Linked DNA regions of Homo sapiens: all the other regions are linked to region 3. The links are contacts of gene promoters, found by promoter capture Hi-C in blood cells and fetal thymus (Javierre and others, 2016). All regions are on one chromosome and are shown on one strand. Each heading gives the region's core, a stretch centred on a gene start or on the middle of the fragment in contact. The rest is flanking DNA. Distances are from core to core; before and after follow the strand shown.

Region 1 (3,002 bases), core at 369-2,868, 770 kb before region 3:
GGGGCTGTAGCACTTTACACTCCCTTTATTATAGTACTTGCCACATTACTCCCTGGTTTTTTATTTACCTGTCTGCTCTTCTACTAGCCAATGAGGTTCTTATGCATATATTTAACAAATTGAACTAATGGATTTTGAGAACCTACTGTGTGTCACACACTGGCTAGGTTCTAAGAATACAAAGATGAAAATCTACTTGCTACCCTCAGGAACTTGCAACCTCATACTGAGGCAAACATGCAAATAATTACTTGTCACAACTGCTCTATAAAAGTGTTATTTATGGAACAGCAGGAGAAAGAAAGAAGGGAAGGTCTAAGCCTAACTGGGGAAATGAGGGAAGGTTTCACACAAGCAACAGCGGTTCAGCTGAAATAGGAAGGAGCCTCAAACAACAAGTCAATGACTTTTTTTTTTAGTAGGAAGACATTTCAGAAGCATGGAAAAGCATGAAAATACGATAGAACAAAGCTGGAGGCATCACACTACCTGACTTCAAACTATACTACAAGGCTACAGTAACCAAAACAGCATGGTACTGGTACCAAAACAGAGATATAGACCAATGGAACAGAACAGAGCCCTCAGAAATAATGCCGCAGGTCTACAACTATCTGATCTTTGACAAACCTGACAAAAACAAGAAATGGGGAAAGGATTCCCTATTTAATAAATGGTGCTGGGAAAACTAGCTAGCCATATGTAGAAAGCTGAAACTGGACCCCTTCCTTACACCTTATACTAAAATTAATTCAAGATGGATTAAAGATTTAAATGTTAGACCTAAAACCATAAAAACCCTAGAAGAAAACCTAGGCAATACCATTCAGGACATAGGCATGGGCAAGGACTTCATGTCTAAAACACCAAAAGCAATGGCAACAAAAGCCAAAATTGACAAATGGGATCTAATTAAACTAAAGAGCTTCTGCACAGCAAAAGAAACTACTATCAGAGTGAACAGGCAACCTACAGAATGGGAGAAAATTTTTGCAATCTACTCATCTGACAAAGGGCTAATATCCAGAATCTACAATGAACTCAAACAAATTTACAAGAAAAAAAAACAACTCCATCAACAAGTGGGCAAAGGATATGAACAGACACTTCTCAAAAGAAGACATTTATGCAGTCAAAAGACACATGAAAAAATGCTCATCATCACTGACCATCAGAGAAATGCAAATCAAAACCACAATGAGATACCATCTCACACCAGTTAGAATGGCCATCAGTAAAAAGTCAGGAAATAACAGGTGCTGGAGAGGATGTGGAGAAATAGGAACACTTTTACACTGTTGGTGGGACTGTAAACTAGTTCAACCATTGTGGAAGTCAGTGTGGCGATTCCTCAGGGATCTAGAACTAGAAATACCATTTGACCCAGCCATCCCATTACTGGGTATATCCCCAAAGGATTATAAATCATGCTGCTATAAAGACACATGCACACATATGTTTATTGCAGCACTATTCACAATAGCAAAGACTTGGAACCAACCCAAATGTTCAACAATGATAGACTGGATTAAGAAAATGTGGCACATATACACCATGGAATACTATGCAGCCATAAAAAAGGATGAGTTCATGTCCTTTGTAGGGACATGGATGAAGCTGGAAACCATCATCCTCAGCAAACTATTGCAAGGACAAAAAACCAAACACCGCATGTTCTCACTCATAGGTGGGAATTGAACAATGAGAACACATGGACACAGGAAGGGGAACATCACACACTGGTGCCTGTTGTGGAGTGGGGGAGGGGGGAGGGATAGCATTAGGAGAAATACCTAATAGTAAATGACGAGTTAATGGGTGCAGCACACCAACATGGCACATGTATACATATGTAACAAACCTGCACGTTGTGCACATGTACCCTAAAACTTAAAGTATAATTTTAAAAAAAAGAAAATATGATAGAAGACAAAGTGGCTAAGGACAAAGAGATAGCATAGTAATTCTGAAATATAAATGGAATAGAATGAAAAAAAAATCCAAGATTTTTCTAATTTAACTCTTTCCTACTCTACTAGCAAGAACTTTGACATATATCAGAAGAACAGCACTGGATGCAGTGGCTCATGCCTATAATCCCAGCACTTTGGTAGGCCAAGGCAGGAGGATCGCCTGAAACCAGGGGTTCAAGACCAGCCTTGGCAACACAGTGAGACACCATCTCTTTAAAAAAAAGAAGAATTTTTTTTTAATTAGCCAGGCATGGTGGCATGTGCCTGTAATCCCAGCTACTCAGGAGGCTGAGGCAGGAGGATCACTTGAGCCCAGGAGTGTGAGGCTACAGTGAGGTATGAACATACCACTGGACTTTAACCTGGATGAGAGTGAGACCCTGTTATCAAAAAAAAAAAAAAAAAGGAGAACATGTAGATGTCATCTACATGACAGCTTTCTACTTATTTCTAGGAATTACACCTATTTTAACTAAAACAAAATCAATGTTGTTAGGTCAGCAAAAGACAGGGCTTCTAATTAGGGTCTCTAGAGTTCATGATTTGCCTTATTTATAATGTTACCCATTTATTTGATAATTATCTGTCTAGAGGTATGAGGCAAACTTAATACTTAGTTTAGAATAAGAGTACTAGCTCTTGGGTCCCTTTTGGCCCTGACTCATGGTCTTTTCACTGTCATCAGGAAAATAACCAAAATGACGAATGAAACTAATAAAACAAAACAAACTCCTGAGTGTAAGGTATCATCATCTTCCAAACTTTACCTGCACTGGGCACACAGTCCCTGTGGTTCCTTTTTTAAAGCAGCACCAGTCTTTCTTATAGTGAGAAGTATCAAGGGCTAGTAGCATCTACTTTGATAAGTAAGGAAGGTAGAGATATACTGCACCTTTGGTCCTCGAGTCTTGGTAGTTTTTCCCATCAACTTTTCATCATCAATTTCACATTGCTCCAGAAGATCCAAAATATCTTCTTCCTTCAAAAAATATTCTAATTAAAATTACAACCACTAATGGACTCTAGAAT
Region 2 (2,713 bases), core at 110-2,609, 600 kb before region 3:
GCTGGACTCAAACTCCTGGGCTCAGGCAGTCCTGCGTAGCTGGGACTGCAGGTGTGTACCATCGAGGCTTGTTTTTTTACTCTTGATAGGTTTTATAATCTCTCTAGCCCCCAGCACTTTCCAAAAGAATCATCAGTATTTATAAGATAAGTCTTCTTCTTGCTAATACTAAGGTTTACTACTATTATGCAAATAAATTGTTTCCCCGATATGGTGGTATAGCTTAAATTGCTTTTAGTGGATTTCTTTATTTTAATTGGCTATAATTAATTTATTCATTTAGTTCATTTTTATTCCCTAGCCAGTGAAATAGGGAGTAAAGAGTTGTCTTCATGTAGCTTATAGTCTGGTAAAAGATTTAGACAAGTAAAAGCACAATTATGAGAATGTTGTAGGAAGTGGATTATAGGACGTGTTTTTTTGTAATGTGAATTAGATTCAGTAATGCTATGTATCTATGCAGAAAATTTTCCGAATCAAATTCGGGATTCTTATAAGTTAAATTGATACACTAGCATAATTGGTATTAGTTCTGCCTTCGAAAATCCAATGTAGATGCCATATTTTTTATCTGGCCTGATGTAACAAGGTATAAAGTCCCAGGCTCTATGGCCATAGTTTAATGTTATATTCACTGTTGTCTTCTATTCATATGTTAACTTTTCAGGGACATCTGAAACTTGTTTTGTTGTAAGATAACTGTGGAATCTAAACCTTTAGGTCTCTGACAAGCCTGTTTTCTCGATCTGGACTTTGTCCTTAGAAAATTAAAGAGACTATTCTTGTGATCATATTAGTTTAGAGTCCTGTTTAGTAAAATGAATATTCCATTTCTATACTGTATTCTTCTTAAGTAGATGACCATATAGCATCAGCAGGCCATTGTTATATGTGAGCCACAAACTTGAGAGAACATGTTGGTATAGATATTACTTCTTTTACAGGGGCTAGCTCTACTGGTAACTTAGCTCTTTCAATCTTAGCTCAGCTCCCTCTGAGTAGGAGCCATGACAGGTTAAACTGTGGAAGAATATGAGCCTCACTTTAGGCTGTAGTCTTTAGGTCATGAATAAGCCATAGTTCAATTCATAGAATGACAGGCAAAACATTCACTTATTTGTCTTTCATTCATTCTTAATCAGTACTTATTGAGCGCCTACTTTAAACCAGGCACTATGCTAGTCTGTAGATGCAAATAAAAATAAGACTTGGTTCCTGTCCTTAAATTGGGAGACAGATACAGATATTTATAGTAAGGCATACAATGATACATAGGTGCCTGAGATTAATACTAGGGTGAAAATGTAGCATAGGAGTTTATAGAGGAGTAGTATAGAATTTCTGAGATCATCTTGGGAAATAGACTGAAACTGACTGAAATGGAAACTTCCTTTGAGTCCATTTTGGAAATATTTACATCTATAATTGTAGCACTTGTACTACATTGCTTTTTCAACTCTTATACCCACTACAGTGTGATCTGGCAAAGCAGTGTCTATGTTGTTTAGTGTTTTAATCTCTGGAATGTGGCACAGTTCTTGGCTCATGTCATGGTGGAAGCTAAAATCATGGATAGTTAAATGGATCAAAAATTCAAACCTCCTGTAGAAGCGTACATCCTCCTCCCTTTCCTCCATTGGCAGGAACTTTGTCAGTAATGTATTGACTATTTGGGGATAATAGTTGATTAATGTGATAAGAGGGTACCTCTTTCCCCCCTTTTTATGGTATATAGTAACTTCTTTGACATTTACATATCAAAATTATATCACAGTTGGTATGGGGAGATTGGTCTCAGGCAGGTAGGAAGAAGACACTGGACTAGGAAAAACTAGAGTATTATGCTCCCAACCTTTTGAAAAATTTGTTATTCAAGGCATGTATCATTCAACTGTGCCACTGTGTTTCTCATCCTTGTTGCTGTCATTTACCAGTCTCTTGCTTACTTCTTATTCATCAAATATTTTGGCATCTGGCCCACAATGTTTCTCTATACTCTAAGCTCTGCATTCATCCTGGATGGTTTCAAATTCTATGTTAATGACTCATCTATCATCACTGCACCTCTGTTCTTTGACCATGTTATCTCCTATTCCCCTTTTGTTCATTCAGATGTCTAGTCTTGCCAAAGACCTTGTAATATTCATTAACTGCTCAAGAATCACCAATGTGTGTGATTCTTTGATCACAATTTCCTCTCCTTTTTGCTTGCTTTTTAAATATTCCCATTATGATCATTCTTCATCAGAACCTCTCATCCATTTATCCATCAGTCCTCTCACTTTCATTTTTTCTTCTTAACCATTCTAGATTACTTGGTCCCAAAATTCCTTTGCACATCTGCCTCTTTATCAAATCTCTCTAACAAAAATGTAACTCATGATAAACTCAGCTATGTGCTTTCTCAGTGCTTTCAGTCAAGAGCTAAGCACTGCTAGAGAAAGCTGCACAGAAGAACACTAGAAATTTACTATCATCAACCTCAAATGAGCTGTCAACATGACTTTACAGTTTTACCACATTTCTCTGATCAACTCTGTCTCTCATTCTTCACAAGTTCTATTTCATTTCTCTCTCTTTATACCTCTGACTTCTCCATTATCTCTCTCATTCTAAGTCATGATATTATGTCATATTTTACAAGGAAAATAAAAGCTATCAGACAGGAACCCCTTTAACTTCTTCCTATTAAATGTTCACACCTACTGTATTT
Region 3 (3,036 bases), core at 141-2,640:
GCTTCCTAAGCCTGTAGGTTGATAGTTTTAGGATAAGAGATCTGATGGATCAAGTTTTGCCGACTGGATCCAAATTCATAAATCTACCTCTAACTTCTAAATTTCAAAATAGCTTGACGTGAACTTTAAAGGCATTTCTTTCCTCTCCAAATTTCTAATTCTTTACAAATTTTATTCACTCTCCTAAATGAGTCAACTCATACCAACCTTTCTAGTTCAGGATCAAACTGTAGGATCACCAGAATTTTCTTCTACCCCACAGTAAGCCAAACCCCCATGAACCATGAAAAGGTCCATGACATCCATCACCCACAGCTAACTCTACACCTTGACTCTAATCTGAATTGTTAGAAAGCCCAGGAAGTTCAAGAAGCCTCCACCCTTACACTTCTAAATCACCTTCTTTTCTAATCCTCAACCTATTACAGCGTCCAGAAAAGAGAAATCTCAATTCTCTCAGATTCAAGAACTTTATCAGCGTTGCTAGTAATCGCAGTTTGGCATTTACAACTATGGGTCCTGAAACTGGGTAATAATCTAAAAATTCCTACATTATACGTGCAGACAGCAAATTAGTATATTCTATGTCCTGGGCCCAAGCGATATGCCTAACTGGGCAATCAGCATAGGCTCAAAAAATGTGCAGGGAGCTCACAATTCAGTTTACTGTCGTTGACTATAAAATTCTAAACCAAAGTATTTTCATGATAAAATTATAAACCAAAGTATTTTCACACATGCCTGCCTCTTGGATGATGTAAATTCTTCCCCTAGACTTTTTACTAGACCACTATCGGGGTTCTCTTCCACTGCAGCGGCCACCCAATAACTCGTTTTAAAGACTGCCTCTTGCGGCTGCACTAGCAAATCGCCAAACCCCGCATGCCCCACGGCCGCTGCTGAGACTCTGCAGCCCCAAATCGGCCATCCCCTCCTCCCCCACGTCCCCGCGCTGCTCGTCCCCCAACGCCGGGCGCCAACCTTGCTCCATCCCAGAGAGGGTTTGGGGCTCCCCGGGTCAGAGCGCTCCGCAGGCGCAGCTCCGCGAACGCCAGCGAGAGCGGTCCCGGGGCCAGCACCTACCTCCCACCTCCTCCTCCAGGAGCGGCCCGGGTCGACGCTCGCCCGCACCCTGCAACGGCCCCAACAGCCGCGCGGAGCCTCCCGCCGAACAACGGGGCGCTGAGCCAGGTGCCGGCTCTCACCTCCGCGCGCGCCCGCCCCTTGCCGGCGCCCACCCCCGCCCGCCCCTCCCTGGCGGGGCGCGTCACAATCCCCGACGCGAGGCGCTGCTGCTCACCGTCACGGCCCCCGGGAGCGGCGGGGAGTCACCGCTCGGCGTCCTAGCCCGGCTCCCGCAGCCCGAGGGCCAGCAGCGCCTCGCAGCGCCTCCCGCCCGCGGCCCCTCCTCCGCTGCGGGCTCCCGCCTTCCCCGCCCCTTGCAGCCGCCTCCCGGCCTCCGCAGGTTTCCGAGGTTCCCACCCCGCCCCCGCGCGCCGGCGCCGCAGGCCCCGCCGCCTCCCATTGGCTCCGCCAGTTGCTAGGCGATGAACAACCGTGGCCTGCATTGGTCGGGTGGGGGCCTCGGTAGTCTCCTCCTTACCTCCAAAAAAACCCGGAGAAAAAGAAGACCTTATCCCTGCGGTCCGCGCGCGCTGCGGGCGCAGCTGCGGCTGCGGCACCTGTTACGCCCAGTGATTCACCCGGCCGTTTTCTGCTCCCCGCCCCCTTCTGACGCCTGCAGCGTCCGGGGCCGGGGCTCTGTGGGGGCCGGGACTCTGCAGGGACCGGGGTCGTGGCTACTTTAGAGCACGTTTTCCGAGCCCCACTGAACCCCAACACCCAGCCTAGCAGCAAAAGTGAAGCTTCCAGGAGAGCCACGTGCGTTTGCCAAAGTGGAGAAATAAACTGCGGGCACCTAGAATTAGGTCAGGTCCAAGGAACGGGAGGTTCAAGCGTCGGGAGTCGTGGATGCAAACAATCCAGCCGGGAGAAAGTTATATGTAAAATTAGGGCGAAGAAATGGATCTGGGCAGAAGACCGCGGGCAAAGGAAAGACTAAGAAATAGCATTCGTGAACTCAGTTTATGCAAAAATGTCTTACACCCACTCGACAAAGTATGTGCGATGAAAATGTATGCCTGCTGCACCCGTGGCCAGGGTCAGGCTGTCTCCTCCCTGGTTTCATGGCAGCCTAAAATTCACTGGGGAAGAAAAGAAAAGAGGCCAGAGAAAGGAGATCAGATGGAGAAATCACAGGCATATAGGTTACACAAAGATGTTCTTTGATTTTTGTTTTGTTTAGTTTTGGTGAAGCCAAGGGATTTATTCAAAAGGCGAAAAACAGGTTTGGTGTTTTAAGGAGACTCCTGAGAGCACTTTGAAACCAAAACAGTATGAGTGAAGATGCTAACACTGAAAAACAAGAGCGGGAGGAATGTCCACCTCCCAGTTTGCATGCACGTATCCCCAATCCTGGATGAAAGATCAGGGCCAGAAGAAGCACGCCACGGTGACAACTTCAGGGCCCAACGAAATCCTCCTCTTTTCCTTTGGCCAAGCAATCAGAGGCCCGTCTAGCTGCTGTTGAGCCCAGGTGGCGTTACCATTAACAGTTACATTTTTAAAAGGTTTGAACCAAGCTTAGTTGAGCTCTGGGAAGTTTAGCTCTGACCTCAGCAACCCCGGGAAAGGAATAAGATCTGCCTGAATAAACCAGCGGTCTCAATCTTTTGGTCTCAAGACCGCTTTCCACTTGTAAAATTATTGAGAGCCCCAAGAACTTTTCTTTATGTTGGTTACAGCTATTAATATTAAAACAGAAATTTAAAAATTGCTATTTTTTAAAATAATAATGAATAAAAATAAAAATGTCAAATAGCGCATTTTAATTAAAAATAACTATTTTCAAAAAATTAGTTAAAAGAATGGTGTTACTTTAAAATTTTGCCCATATCTTTAATGTCTTGCTTAATAGAAGGCATTTGGATTTTCATATCTGTTTGTGCATTCGATCTGTTGTGCTATTTCAGGTAG
Region 4 (3,080 bases), core at 147-2,646, 690 kb before region 3:
CTCTCCTGCATGAGGGGAATTTCCTCTGGTGGAAGGATACTGGGAACAAGGGGAGGGGGAGCATCTGAATGCTGAGAAGAGATGTTGGGAACTTTATGCATCTGACAATCACTGTTCTCAAAGGTCATCTCTGGCAAATGTACAGGGGAGGCAGGAGAGGTCTTTAATGTCTGTCAACTGTCCCTCCCTTACACCTTATACCTTGTGCCCAGGACTTCTGCTCAGACCTAAGCAGAGGTCCCAAATTCCTGCTCTCACCTTTGTGAATTCCCCAAATTAGAGTGCAAAAGTGAGCTCACAGCTGTGCCTTGCAATATCAGGACCCTGAAGCTGGAGACCTGGGAATCTGATATAAGAGGATAGAATAAACTGAAATTTGAAGGAGATAGATATGTGTGTTGTGGGTGAGGGAATGCAGAGGTTTACAGCTGAAGTCCACAAATACAACACTGGAACCAGAAAGTAGTCTATCACATATTCTCCTTCTCTGACTATCAACTCTTACTCACTCTCACCAAGCCTGTTCTCCAACTTAGTATCTTCTCTCCTCAGTAACACCAACTGCCTGCCTTTCTCCCAGTCTCCATGATTTAATCAGTCTTTAGTCTAATCAAAAGAAGTTGCTTGAAAGACTATAATCTGAGGAGCCACAGACAAGATTGGGTGTTATGAATTATTAATATGCAAATATTCTATAATCAACATGTAAGTATTCCAAATTGAACACTGGGAATTGATACAGTTTGGATATGGGTCCCTATCCAAATCTCATGTTGAATTTTATTCCCCAGTGTTGGAGGTGGGGGTGGGAAATATTTGAATCCTGGGGACATATCCATCATGAATGGCTTAATGCATCCCTTTGGCGGTAAGTGAGCGCTCACTCTGAGTTCTCACAAGATCTGGTCACTTAAAGTGTGTGGCACCACCCCCTCACTCTCTCTCTTGCTCCTGCTTTCTGCTATGTGACGTGCCTGCTCCCCCTTCCCCTTCAACATGATTGGACGCTTCCTAAGGCCTCCCCAGAAGCAGATGCTGCCATGCTTCCAGTACAGCCTGCAGAACTGTGAGCCAATTACACCTCTTTTCTTATAAATTACCTAGTTTCAGGTATTTATTTATAGCAATGCAAGAATGGCCTAATATAAGAACTCAGTAGTTTCAAAACTTGCTTAAAATAGTGCAACTTCAAGACCTCATACCCTTTAACCCAGAAATTTTATTTCTGAGACTCTATGCAAAGGAACTAATATTCAAAATACAAAAAAAAGCATACGCACAAAGATGTTCATCACAGTGCTATTATTATCATCAATAATTGTTTATTATGATGTCATCAATAGTGACAATGAGGAACAATTAGGCAATGATAATACATCTACCAAATGGAAAATTATGTAGTCATTTTTAAGCCTGCTATTAGGCATTTTAAACCTAGTATTAAGCCAGTTGTAATTAAATGAAAACTAAAGTTATAGAATTTTAAATTTAAAAATAATATAAAAGTAATATAGATACCATAATTAAAACTACGCATGAAAAAAGTGGAAAGAAACATGTCAAAAATGAATAGTGATTGTCTTTAGTTGGTCAAATTATGAGGGTGTTTTTTTCCTTTTTATATTCTTAAACTTTCCAAATTGTTCATAATTATCTAATGGGGGCCGGAGCTAAAAGGCAAATTCCTTTGGAAGAGGAAAAATTGTACTTGCACAGAAAACTTTTTCTCAGTTTAGTTGACAATCCTTTTAGTACCCAGGAAACAGACCATTTCCTGGAAGGGGACTCGGGGCAACAGATATGGAGAATGTAAGAAAGAGAAATGATTAACAGATCAGAAACAGATCTCACTGTCTGACATTCAAGTTTCTTCATGATCTTTCACCATGTATCCAAACAGTAGATGAGCACTTCTTAGCTGAACCTTTATGTGGCTTTCTCTTTGCCTATCAGAATCCTTCCAGTCTCTGAGACTGATTTAATTCACTTCAACCCATGAAGACTTTCCTGATCCTCTGATCATCCAAGGCTCTACTATTTCTCTTTTCTCTTAAGGTACCGCTATAGCAGTAGGTCTGCACCACCCTTTTCTGGTATTAAGCCAATTCTAAGTTATTTGTTAATTACTCACGTGTAAGTAAAATTTCCCCTGCTAGACTTTAAGTTCCTTGAAGTGGGGAATTTAGATGGTTTGCAGACTGTAGTCATTGGACAGAGGAGAGAGAGCAGTTCTAAAGCCAAGTTGGTATTATATTCATACTCTCAGTGATGTCATCTAAGTAAAATGTGCTGTCTCTGTTTTAAAATGTTGCTGCTGACCATCCATCACCAGGACATGCACTTTCCTTTTTTTTTTTTTAACAGCAGTGGTATTGTATTTTTGCTTATTCATTCATGCCAGTTCTGCTGTCCCCCTTAGGATTAAACAGATTGGATTACAAGATGCCTTGCCAAGGTTCAGGATATAGGTTATAGCCATGTAAAGAACAAAATGAAATGACTTTTAGGAATCAAACTCAAGACTCTTCACAAGACCCCACTTCTCATACTCTTGTTTGAACAACAAATATAAATTTGTGCCTCCATTTTATGTCCTTATTTAGGCAGTGGACTTTATCAATACCCCCGTTAACTTGAAAAAGAATTCTCCAATGCAAATGGTTCAATACTTTAGAAATGACATACTAAGATGACTCTGTTCCTGCCTACCATCAATACTATGTGAGTATTTAGAGATAATGAGCATCTGTACTATAGCAACCTGCCTCTTGAGACATAAACAAGAGATGCATTTCTTAAGAAAAAATCTGTAAGTCGCTAATGAAAGCAAGTCAAAGGACCCATCAACGGGCGAAGAAAGACCTAGCATCCATTATTTTTACAGAAGGAGCATAGAAGGTCAATATAATTGTTGACTCTTAACGGCAGGGTAACAACAAACTAATTCAGTTTCCCACTATATAAGAACTACATTTTACTACAACACTCATATTTCTAAACTGACTAAGAGTCAAGGCTTGTCCAAATTCCATGGCTTACTGAGTGGTCTTGAACCTTCTCTGAATTTTGTTCCTTAGTCT
Region 5 (2,899 bases), core at 125-2,624, 740 kb before region 3:
AGTCCCCAATTAATTTTTAATACTTTAAAAATATTAACAGTAATGATGTATAACACCTCCATATTTTGTAACATAGTTAAGTCAATTTCCCTACCTCCTTCTTGAGGCAGAGATGGCATTATTGCCTGTGCTGATTAGCAAGCAGTGTGTGCTGCTGTACCAAGCTCTCAGGAAATCTGGAAATTCCACATTAGTCTAAGTAGGATATGGCCCCAAATCACTGAAAGTTCTTATCATATTATCTTGGTGGAATCCTCAGATTTCAGGATACCAAAGTTATGGGATAACAAGGTACCTGCAGTGATTTTAAAACAAGGTCATTTAGAAAAAACTTTTTTGAATTTTTTTTCATATATGCCAAGACTATTCTTTTTAAAAGTCAAGGTGAAAGTTAATGTGTTCAATCAACAAATAATTGTAAATCGGTTTATTAAACCTTACGCAAAATGCCAAGTGATGCTTTCCTATCCTGAAAGAATGCATAGTCTAGGGGAAGAAGTTTTATTAAGTCACGTGTCACATGTATATTCAATAAATAATATACTATACACAAACAATAACAGCAATAACAATATTCACTACTATTTATTGAACACTTATTATCTTAGGCATTTATATTATACCATTTAATCTTTCAACAAACCTGTAAGGTAGAAGCTTTTATCCCCATCTTACAGATAAGTTGAGCTTAGAAAGGACAAATTATTTTGTGTATCTTTACAAAGAAAATTACAACACAGAGATTAAAATGAAGATTCTTCTAATGTCAATGCCAGAGTGTCTTATTTAGAAACCCACACAACCTTCAACCCAATGCCTGAAACACTGCTTTTAATATGAGACAGTGAAAAGTGCCAGGCAGGGTAGAGGTCACATGTTGACAGAATGCAGAGAAGTGATTCCTATATAAAGGATTATGGGGGACAACTTAATAAAGTAAACCACATCTTGAATTGTGCCTTAAAAAATGAGAACAGTTTTGAAGGACAGAAAATGGGTGGGGTCATTATTATGATGATTTTATTCAGGCACACAGAGGAATGCAACAATCAATGAATTAATTTGATCTGGCTACATCTCAACATGGCCTATAGTACACTTTGCTTGTATTTTCATTGTAAATATATGAACGTAGGCATTTATGCCCTAACAATACCATATTGTTCAGTCTGTACTATCAACTTTCTAATTTCTCCTTATTGTAAGAATCCTTCAGTTCTTGTAAAATATCTATAAACACAATGAAAAATAAAACCTATTATGATAAGCAAAGGTATAATATCAACACCTTTATTAGATTGTCAAGTTTATCAGAAATTCAGAAACATCCAACATTCAGCTACATAAAACGTGAGTCCTATATCACTCCAAATATTCATTATTATTAATGTTTCAATATTAAAGAAAATTTAGGGTTTTATTTGTTCTCAGGTATCATTTTTACTAAAATGATTGTCTAGTATAATTCAATATCAAAACGGGGAACTTTTATTTATTACAGACCAACTGTAGGTAGGCATTTTATTAAGCATTTTAAATATTTTATTTCATTAACAAACTTTAAATTTAGGTATCATTTCTCCCTATTTTCCAGAAAAAGAAACTAAGGCTAGATAAGTTAAACAAATCAAGGTAACATGGCTTAGAAATAGAAAACTTAGACTTTAAACCCAATTCTAATTATTCTATTCATTAAGCTCCCCTATTTTCAGACCCCATGCTAACATAATATATAGACATATGAGAAGTTTCCAACCCTACTGCAGTACATGCCGCAAGATATGGCCATATTCTGGGAATTTGCAATACTTCAAACAGTGAATTCACAGTAAAACATCTCTAAACTGATCTCAGCTCCCAATGCCAAGCTGGAAACAGACTGGATCACTTCTCAGAATAAAAGAAAGGAGTAGTGTAAAGTTTAGTTCAGTTTCTTTCTGGAGGCTCTCTGAAACCTCAGGGAAGTAACTATTTGAGTTTACAAGTTTTTTGTCCAACATCTTGTTACTGGAGTAAACAAAGATCCCCTTTACAGTAACAGAATACTTATTACATTGAAAGTAGGTGACAAAGTCAACAAGACTTTAAAAACAAGCTTCACCTAACTATACTAGATTCTAAAAACAAATTTGTTAGTTTTTGACTTAAATAATAAGTCAAATGGCTGATTTGTACAGAGTTCAAAACAAGAACTTTTATCCCTTCCCCAAGGCATACAGGAATTTAAAGTTCTTAAAATTATACTATGCATATATGCGCTTTACTTAATTCCATTTATGCCTTAGTCAAAGTGCTTTAACAAACTCAAGGACTTCATTCAACCATGGCAATTCTAATCAGCTTTATTCTAAGCAAGAGATTTGAGATGACGGATTTATCCCACCACTCATTTGAAACCATAGTTACCTACTTTCCAAAAGCAGAAAACATGTTTCAGTTACCTCTGAAATGCTTTAAGCCAATGGCTTCTCAACCTTGGCTGCAAAGCAGAATTGCCTGAATGAGGAGCTTTTGAAAATCCTGCTGTCCAGGCCACACCCCAGAACTAAGTGGGGCCCAACCATCAGCATTTCTAAAGCTCTTCATGTGATTCCAGTGCAGCTAAGGTTGAGAACCTCTACTGTAAGCACACGATGACAATGCAACAAATAATAGCTAATTATAACAACACATGAAATTATAAGAAAAAAAGTAAAAGAAAACTCATAACTTTTTTAAAAAGACCAAATAGGTAAAAATTACCCACAAAAATCCTGTTTTCCTATCTAGTTCAAAAAAAAAAAAAACCAGAAAAAAATTTGACGGTGAGCACAAAATGATTTTTAAGATAAAGAAACAGAATTTATTTACAAAAGGAATCAATTTTCCAAAATTTCAAGCAAATGTTAACCTTGAACAT
Region 6 (2,920 bases), core at 350-2,849, 800 kb before region 3:
AACATATATATGAACATATGAACATATATATGTGAACACATATATATGAGCGCATATGTGAACATATATATGAGCGCATATGTGAACATATATATGAACGCATATGTGAACATATATATGAACGCATATGTGAACATATATATGAACACATATATGAGTATATATATGAATATATATAAAGAAAAGAGCAAAAAGAGAGAAAGAGAAAGAAGGAAAAAGAAAAAAGAAAGAAAAAGAGAAAGAAAGAAAGAAAGAAAGAAAAGAATAAAAGAAAGAAAGAGAAAAAAGAGAGGGGAGGGGAGGGGAGAGGAGAGGAGAGGAGAGATGAGATTAGTGAACACTGAGTTCAAGAATATAATAACTACCTGGGAAATGGGGAGCCAGGGGGATGGAAGGGAATCATTTGGTTATATACGTTATTTCCAAGAACCTAGCTTTTGATTTGCGTGTTGGGTTCACAGGTGGTATAATAAACTTAAAAACACTAAATAATACTAAATAAAAGCAGGCCATGCACAAACCAATCATGAAAGAGTATAATGAAATAAGGACTATGATTAATCTGGACCACTGAAATCCTAGAGGTCCTAAAAAATTTGTAAACCCCAAAAAACTGTTTTGTCTAATTCACATGTACTTGATACTTATGCAATGTAGGTATTTCCAACAAAATTCTTTTGTAAAAAAACAAAAAGAAAAAAAAATGAACACCAAATACTAATATTCTGATCTCCATTCATCAAAGTGGATTTTTCACTTTTTGTTTTATCTAGCTCTATAATTATGGCAACTGCCTATACAAATGAAAGTGGAAGATGAAAAGGGAAAAAGACTTTCAAACATAAAGACTAAAGACATTTCTCTCAACAGACATAAACATGAAGAATTGGAAGCAGATGAAAGAATGATTTCTCTTTAAAACAGCAATATTTAAAGAAATGATGTTTGTTATCTCTGATCAAGGCAAATTTAAACATTTGTTTAAAAATAAATTTAGTAAAAAGCTTTCAAGGTGATATTTATAGAAGACTAGGAACTACAGCTTCTCACAGGGAACTGTGTGAGCAGCAGCATTCCTTCCTTTCCTGTTCCAGCTTCCTGCACTGTGATGGGGGCAGTAATACAAATCCTACTGTAGGTCAGGGTGTGTCCTAGGGGAAGGGGCAGGGGATGAGGAGGGAAAACACAATCTGTAATAAAGTAGTGTGTGAAAAACCTCATGAAAAGGCTCATTACAGGTAACAAATGCTTCATTATAAAGAGGAATATCTTAAAACTTCACAACAATATTGAAATATGAGTATCAAGGCATTAATTCATGCCTTTTAGTTTTTACAATTTTAATTTAAGCTATTAGTTTAACTCTTTATATTTTTTAGTGTAGAAAGCAGTGCTCATGACTAATGTGATATAAGAATCAACACTAACTGTAAATGATAAATTTAAATCATTTTTCTTCTCACTTTTCCTTTCTACTTTCTGTCAATATATTAGTAAGTAATAATAGGCCAAAAGTCATAATGCAGAAAGGAAAGAATAAAAAAGTAGCCAAGATAACCCATGTATTAGTCTCAAGGATAAATATGAGTTATATAAAAATAACTGAAATTGAAAAATGTTATTGATACTGGCAATTTTAACGTTACCTTAAGTTCATCAGTTTTCACATTATATTATAAAATGATTATTCAACTTTAAAATGATAAAGGATTTGAGACCATGGAGTATTCATTCATTTCTTTTTAAATACACTTCAAGGGCAACTAACATGTATCATCCGCCTGCTCTATGCAAAACACTGTGCTAGGCACATTACTTAGAGGAGATTCTTTTGACCACTACTCTGCATATATTTTCTTAATTTAGAGGGAATTTTAATAGCATGACAGTACCATATTCTAGCCCATACATGACTAAAAGCAGCACCTTCAGAATGGAGCCGGGGAGTTAGGGATGGGGAATGCTTCTGCTCCATTCCTAATGTTTTCTTCAATATGGAGATGGAAAAATCTGCAGGCATCATGGCACCCCATCAGGCACCTCTACCTAAGAAGCAATTTCCCAGATTGGTGAGACTGACATGGTCTGGGCAAACTAGGCACATTCTCCTTCCTGTCCAGAGCAAACCACTGGGAACACGCATTCCTCTTTGCTTCTCTTTGCTTTCAGTTTTCAAGGAGCCTCCGCAAGAAGGCAAGCTTTGGTCCTCGGAGACCCACCCCTATAATTTGGAGGGCATGGAACAACAGACTGAGGGAACAGGAACCCAAATCCTTCAACTCTCCTCTGAGTCTTCACATAAGCTCCTTCCTCTGCCTGAAACAGTCTTCTCCTATCTCTTCATCTGATAAACTTCTATGTTTCACTTCAAATGCCACTTCTAAGGAAAACTTTACCTGCCACTGAACTATTGTTTGATATCTTAATGCCCAGTTCTTCCTTTATTAGCAAGCACCTTATTTTATTTTAATTTCCTGTTTAATTAATGGAGACTGTTATGCATATAAAGGGAGTAAACTGTGCCCATCTTGATAATAAAGTTACCAGGTCCCCAAGGCTTAAGACAAGGTCTATCATTTAGTAGGTTCCTGTCTTAGTAAGTCATTCCTTGCAAGAAAGTCACACCTATGTAGACAAGGTAAAAAATCATTGAGAGAACTTACCATGTGCCAAGCACTGTTCTAAGCACTTTTACATATATTAACTCATTTAGTCCTCAAAACAAAAACATGAGGTAGATACTATTGGTCCACAGTCCCTTTCCAAAAATCTCAAGCTTAGATTCCATAATCATACATATTATTAATTCTGCAGGAAAAAAATGTAAATATTCAAACCAAGAGATAGACAAAATCAATACATAACTTCTTGTCAGGTCATTGTCACCAAATGAATTCAGGTAGGTTAGGTTTTGCTGCCT
Region 7 (3,161 bases), core at 193-2,692, 620 kb before region 3:
AATTCTCCTTTAATTAAACAGACCATTTCAGCTCTCTAGCCACTCCTACACTTGCATAGTTACTGATAAAACAAATGGCTTTTATTTAGCAAGAGTCATTGTTTCTTAGAGAATACATGTGGTTATAAGTAGTATATAATAAAATGTTTGGAAATAAAAAAGTAAAAATCACCTTAATGTTCTGCAGTGGTTCTGCCATATCCAACAGATAGTATTTAAATAGCAACTTCAACTTATAGGTCAGAAAAACTAAGAAATTATATTTGAATTCATTCTCTTTAATTAGACCCTGAATAATTATTTAACATAATTTTTAAAAGAAATTAAACTTGAGTTTCCTTCTTTATCCTTTCTGTGTTTCCAAATAATCATGAGTTATAGTGGTAAGACCCTCTAACACATCTGTGTGAAGTTCAGTGAAACACTGGCTTGGGAATCTAGAGCCTTGGTTTCAGTCCTGTTTTTTTCTCAGACGATTTAACAAATCCACTTAACCTAACTCTCTGTTTTCTCTATTTTCAAAATGGAGTGGAGAGCATTCATTTTCTACTGCTGCTGTAACAAATTACTATAAAGTTTGTGGCTTAAAACAACACAAAATCGTCTTATAGTTCAGAAGGTTAGAAGCCTAACACAGGTCTCACTGGGCTAAAATCAAGATGTGAGAAGGGTTGTGTTCCTTTCTGGAGACTAGAGGAGAATTGGTTTCCCTGTTCTTTCTACCTCCTAGAGGCTGCCCATATTCCACAATTATTGGCCCCCTTCCTCCATCTTCAAAGCCAGCAATGGCATTGAGTGCTTCTTACAGCTCATCACTCTTACTTCCTCTTCAGCCTCTCTCTTCCACTTTTAAGGACCTTTGTGATTACAGTGGGTGCACAGGGATAGTCCAGGATAATCTCCCTATTTTCACATGAACTAATTAGAAAAAATTTAATTTTCCTTTTTCATGCAAGGTACCATATTCACAAACTGTAGGAATTAGGACATGGACATCTTTGGGAGAGGCATAATTCTGCCTACCACATCAGGTTGACAGAATATTTCTAGTATGTTTAATCCAAAATGTCTACGACTTCATAATAAAGCTCACCACATGTTTTTTAGGGGGAAAGGGATACTCCAAACAGCTCTACTGAGAAGAAATATTTTCTTTACTAACACTGTTAAATAAATCCTCTGTAGTGGACATTGTTGTGTGTATTTTTTGTTTATGTTTATTTTTTTTTCCTAAGTGTTCAACTTCTACTCCATCTTCTTTGGTAATGAAAAATTTCTGCTCTACCACTGATGAGTCCCATGGGACTGCTAATCATTTGCCTTGCTCTGGGTAAGAAGCAGAAATGTAAACCAAGGTAGGCCAATTGAACTGTTTCCTTAAAAAGTGAATTGTGGAAAAAGGAACAAAACTGAATAGCCTTTGTTTTTGTTTGCATTCCGTTGGCTACATTAGGGGAAAATGTCAGGCAGCAACTGCTATTTCAACTCTTTGGAGCTGCCTAGTTCCTGAGTGTGCCAAGCCTGGTTCTTTAGTTTTTGCATTCCCTTCTATATGCAGCTATATATTCGTCCAATAAATTTGTTTTGCTTATATTAGTTAGAGTCCATTTCTAGCATTCAGTCAGTCAAATTAATATTCCTCTTTCTTTCTTGACTTTTATGACTGTTTCCTTGTTCTCTCCGAACTTGTCTGATCACTACAGGCTCCTACTATACCAGACTCCATTTCTTCTCTGTTCCATAGCTATCTATTCTTAGCTGCCTTTTTTCTCTATATTTTCTATTTCATTCATAGTTGTGGTTTTGACTCTCATCTTTATACTAAATTCACAACTCATGTATATTTTTAAATTTACTTTTATTTCAATAAGTTTGCAGGGAGCAGGTGGTGTTTGGTTGCATGAATAAGTTCTTTAGTGGTGATTTCTGAGATTTTGGTGCATCCATCACCCGAGCAGTGTACACTGTACGAAATGTGTAGTGTTTTTTTGTTTTGTTTTGTTTTTGTTTTTTTGAGACGGAGTCTCACTCTGTTGCCAGGCTGGAATGCTGTGGCACGATCTTGGCTCACTGAAACCTCCGACTCCCTGGTTCAAGCTATTCTCCTGCTTCAGCTTCCTGAGTAGCTGGGATTACAGGCACATGCCACCACGCCCGGCCAATTTTTGTATTTTTAGTAGAGATGGAGTTTCACTATGTTGGCCAGGATGGTCTTGATCTCCTGACCTCGTGATCCGCCCACCTTGGCCTCCCAAAGTGCTGGGATGACAGGCATGAGCCACCATGCCCAGCCCCCAATGTGTAGTCTTTTATCCCTCACCCTCTCCCACCCTTTCCCCCTACTCCCCAAAGTCCAATGTATCATTCTTATGCATTTGTGTCCTCATGGCTTAGCTCCCACTTATGAGTGAGAACAAATGATGTTTGGTTTTCTATTCCTGAGTTACTTCACTTGGAATAATAGTCTCCAATTCCATCCAGGTTGCTGCAAATGCCATTATTTCATTCCTTTTTATGGCTGAGTAGTATTTCATGGTATATATATCCCACATTTTCTTTATCCACTTGTTGATTGATGCGCTTCTGGGGTGATTCCATAGTTTTGCAATTGTAAATTGTGCTGCTATAAACATGCAAGTGCAAGTATCTTTTTCATATAATTATTTCTTTTCCTCTGGGTAGATACCTAGTAGTGGAATTGTTGGATCAAACAGTAGATCTACTTTTAGTTCTTGAAGGAATCTCCACACTGTTTTCCATAGTGGTTGTTTTAGTTTACATTCCCACCAATAGTGTAAAAGTGTTCCCTTTCACCATATCCATGCCAACATCTATTTCTTTTTATTTTTTGATTATGGCCATTCTTGCAGGAGGGGTAAGGTGGTATTGCATTGTGGTTTTGATTTGCATTTCCCTGGTAATTAGTGATGTTGAGCATTTTTACATATGCTTGTTGGCCATTTGTATATATTCTTTTGAGAATTGTCTATTCACGTCCTTTGCCCACTTTTTGATGGGGTTGTTTTTTCTTTCTGATTTGTTAGAATTCTTCATAGATTCTGGGTATTAGTCCTTTGTTGGATGTATAGATTGTGAAGACTTTGTCTGTTAACTATGCCGATTATTTCTTTTGCTGAGCCAACTGAATTATACAACCCCTT

The links. The method cuts DNA at HindIII sites, captures the fragments that hold promoters and counts their contacts. A CHiCAGO score of 5 or more calls a contact.
Region 1: a contact is called between a fragment that was not itself captured here and the fragment with the promoter of SSX2IP in region 3, in 2 of 17 cell types (M1 macrophages and erythroblasts). The highest score is 5.6, in M1 macrophages.
Region 2: a fragment that was not itself captured here is called in contact with the fragment with the promoter of SSX2IP in region 3 in 8 of 17 cell types (naive B cells, non-activated CD4 T cells, total B cells and 5 more); the score reaches 10.4 in naive B cells.
Region 4: a fragment that was not itself captured here is called in contact with the fragment with the promoter of SSX2IP in region 3 in 1 of 17 cell types (total B cells); the score reaches 6.0 in total B cells.
Region 5: a contact is called between a fragment that was not itself captured here and the fragment with the promoter of SSX2IP in region 3, in 2 of 17 cell types (M2 macrophages and total B cells). The highest score is 7.7, in M2 macrophages.
Region 6: a contact is called between a fragment that was not itself captured here and the fragment with the promoter of SSX2IP in region 3, in 1 of 17 cell types (endothelial precursors). The highest score is 5.3, in endothelial precursors.
Region 7: a contact is called between a fragment that was not itself captured here and the fragment with the promoter of SSX2IP in region 3, in 3 of 17 cell types (total B cells, naive B cells and erythroblasts). The highest score is 6.7, in total B cells.

The regions. Positions count from the first base shown.
Region 1 is chr1:83,914,739-83,917,740 of GRCh38, forward strand. It overlaps TTLL7 (tubulin tyrosine ligase like 7), which reads right to left. Exons shown (of 21, transcript NM_024686.6): 14 at 2,866-2,952. Among named protein-coding and RNA genes, the nearest start is that of LINC01725, 55 kb to the left of the region's middle. The HindIII fragment of the contact is 4,769 bases long and covers 1-3,002 here.
Region 2 is chr1:84,087,608-84,090,320 of GRCh38, forward strand. It overlaps a transcript of PRKACB not described here. Among named protein-coding and RNA genes, the nearest start is that of PRKACB, 55 kb to the right of the region's middle. The HindIII fragment of the contact is 8,490 bases long and covers 1-2,713 here.
Region 3 is chr1:84,689,071-84,692,106 of GRCh38, forward strand. It overlaps SSX2IP (SSX family member 2 interacting protein), which reads right to left and starts at 1,391. Exons shown (of 14, transcript NM_001166293.2): 1 at 1,301-1,391. RefSeq lists a silencer at 843-1,602. The HindIII fragment of the contact is 1,864 bases long and covers 1-1,863 here.
Region 4 is chr1:83,994,522-83,997,601 of GRCh38, forward strand. The region is part of intron 1 of TTLL7 (tubulin tyrosine ligase like 7); the gene reads right to left. Among named protein-coding and RNA genes, the nearest start is that of TTLL7, 3.1 kb to the right of the region's middle. The HindIII fragment of the contact is 4,005 bases long and covers 1-3,080 here.
Region 5 is chr1:83,952,093-83,954,991 of GRCh38, forward strand. TTLL7 (tubulin tyrosine ligase like 7) reads right to left here. Exons shown (of 21, transcript NM_024686.6): 2 at 95-295. The coding sequence starts at 119. Among named protein-coding and RNA genes, the nearest start is that of TTLL7-IT1, 31 kb to the right of the region's middle. The HindIII fragment of the contact is 1,438 bases long and covers 656-2,093 here.
Region 6 is chr1:83,892,693-83,895,612 of GRCh38, forward strand. The region is part of intron 18 of TTLL7 (tubulin tyrosine ligase like 7); the gene reads right to left. Among named protein-coding and RNA genes, the nearest start is that of LINC01725, 33 kb to the left of the region's middle. The HindIII fragment of the contact is 1,194 bases long and covers 1,003-2,196 here.
Region 7 is chr1:84,066,265-84,069,425 of GRCh38, forward strand. No RefSeq gene overlaps it. Among named protein-coding and RNA genes, the nearest start is that of TTLL7, 69 kb to the left of the region's middle. The HindIII fragment of the contact is 3,970 bases long and covers 1-3,161 here.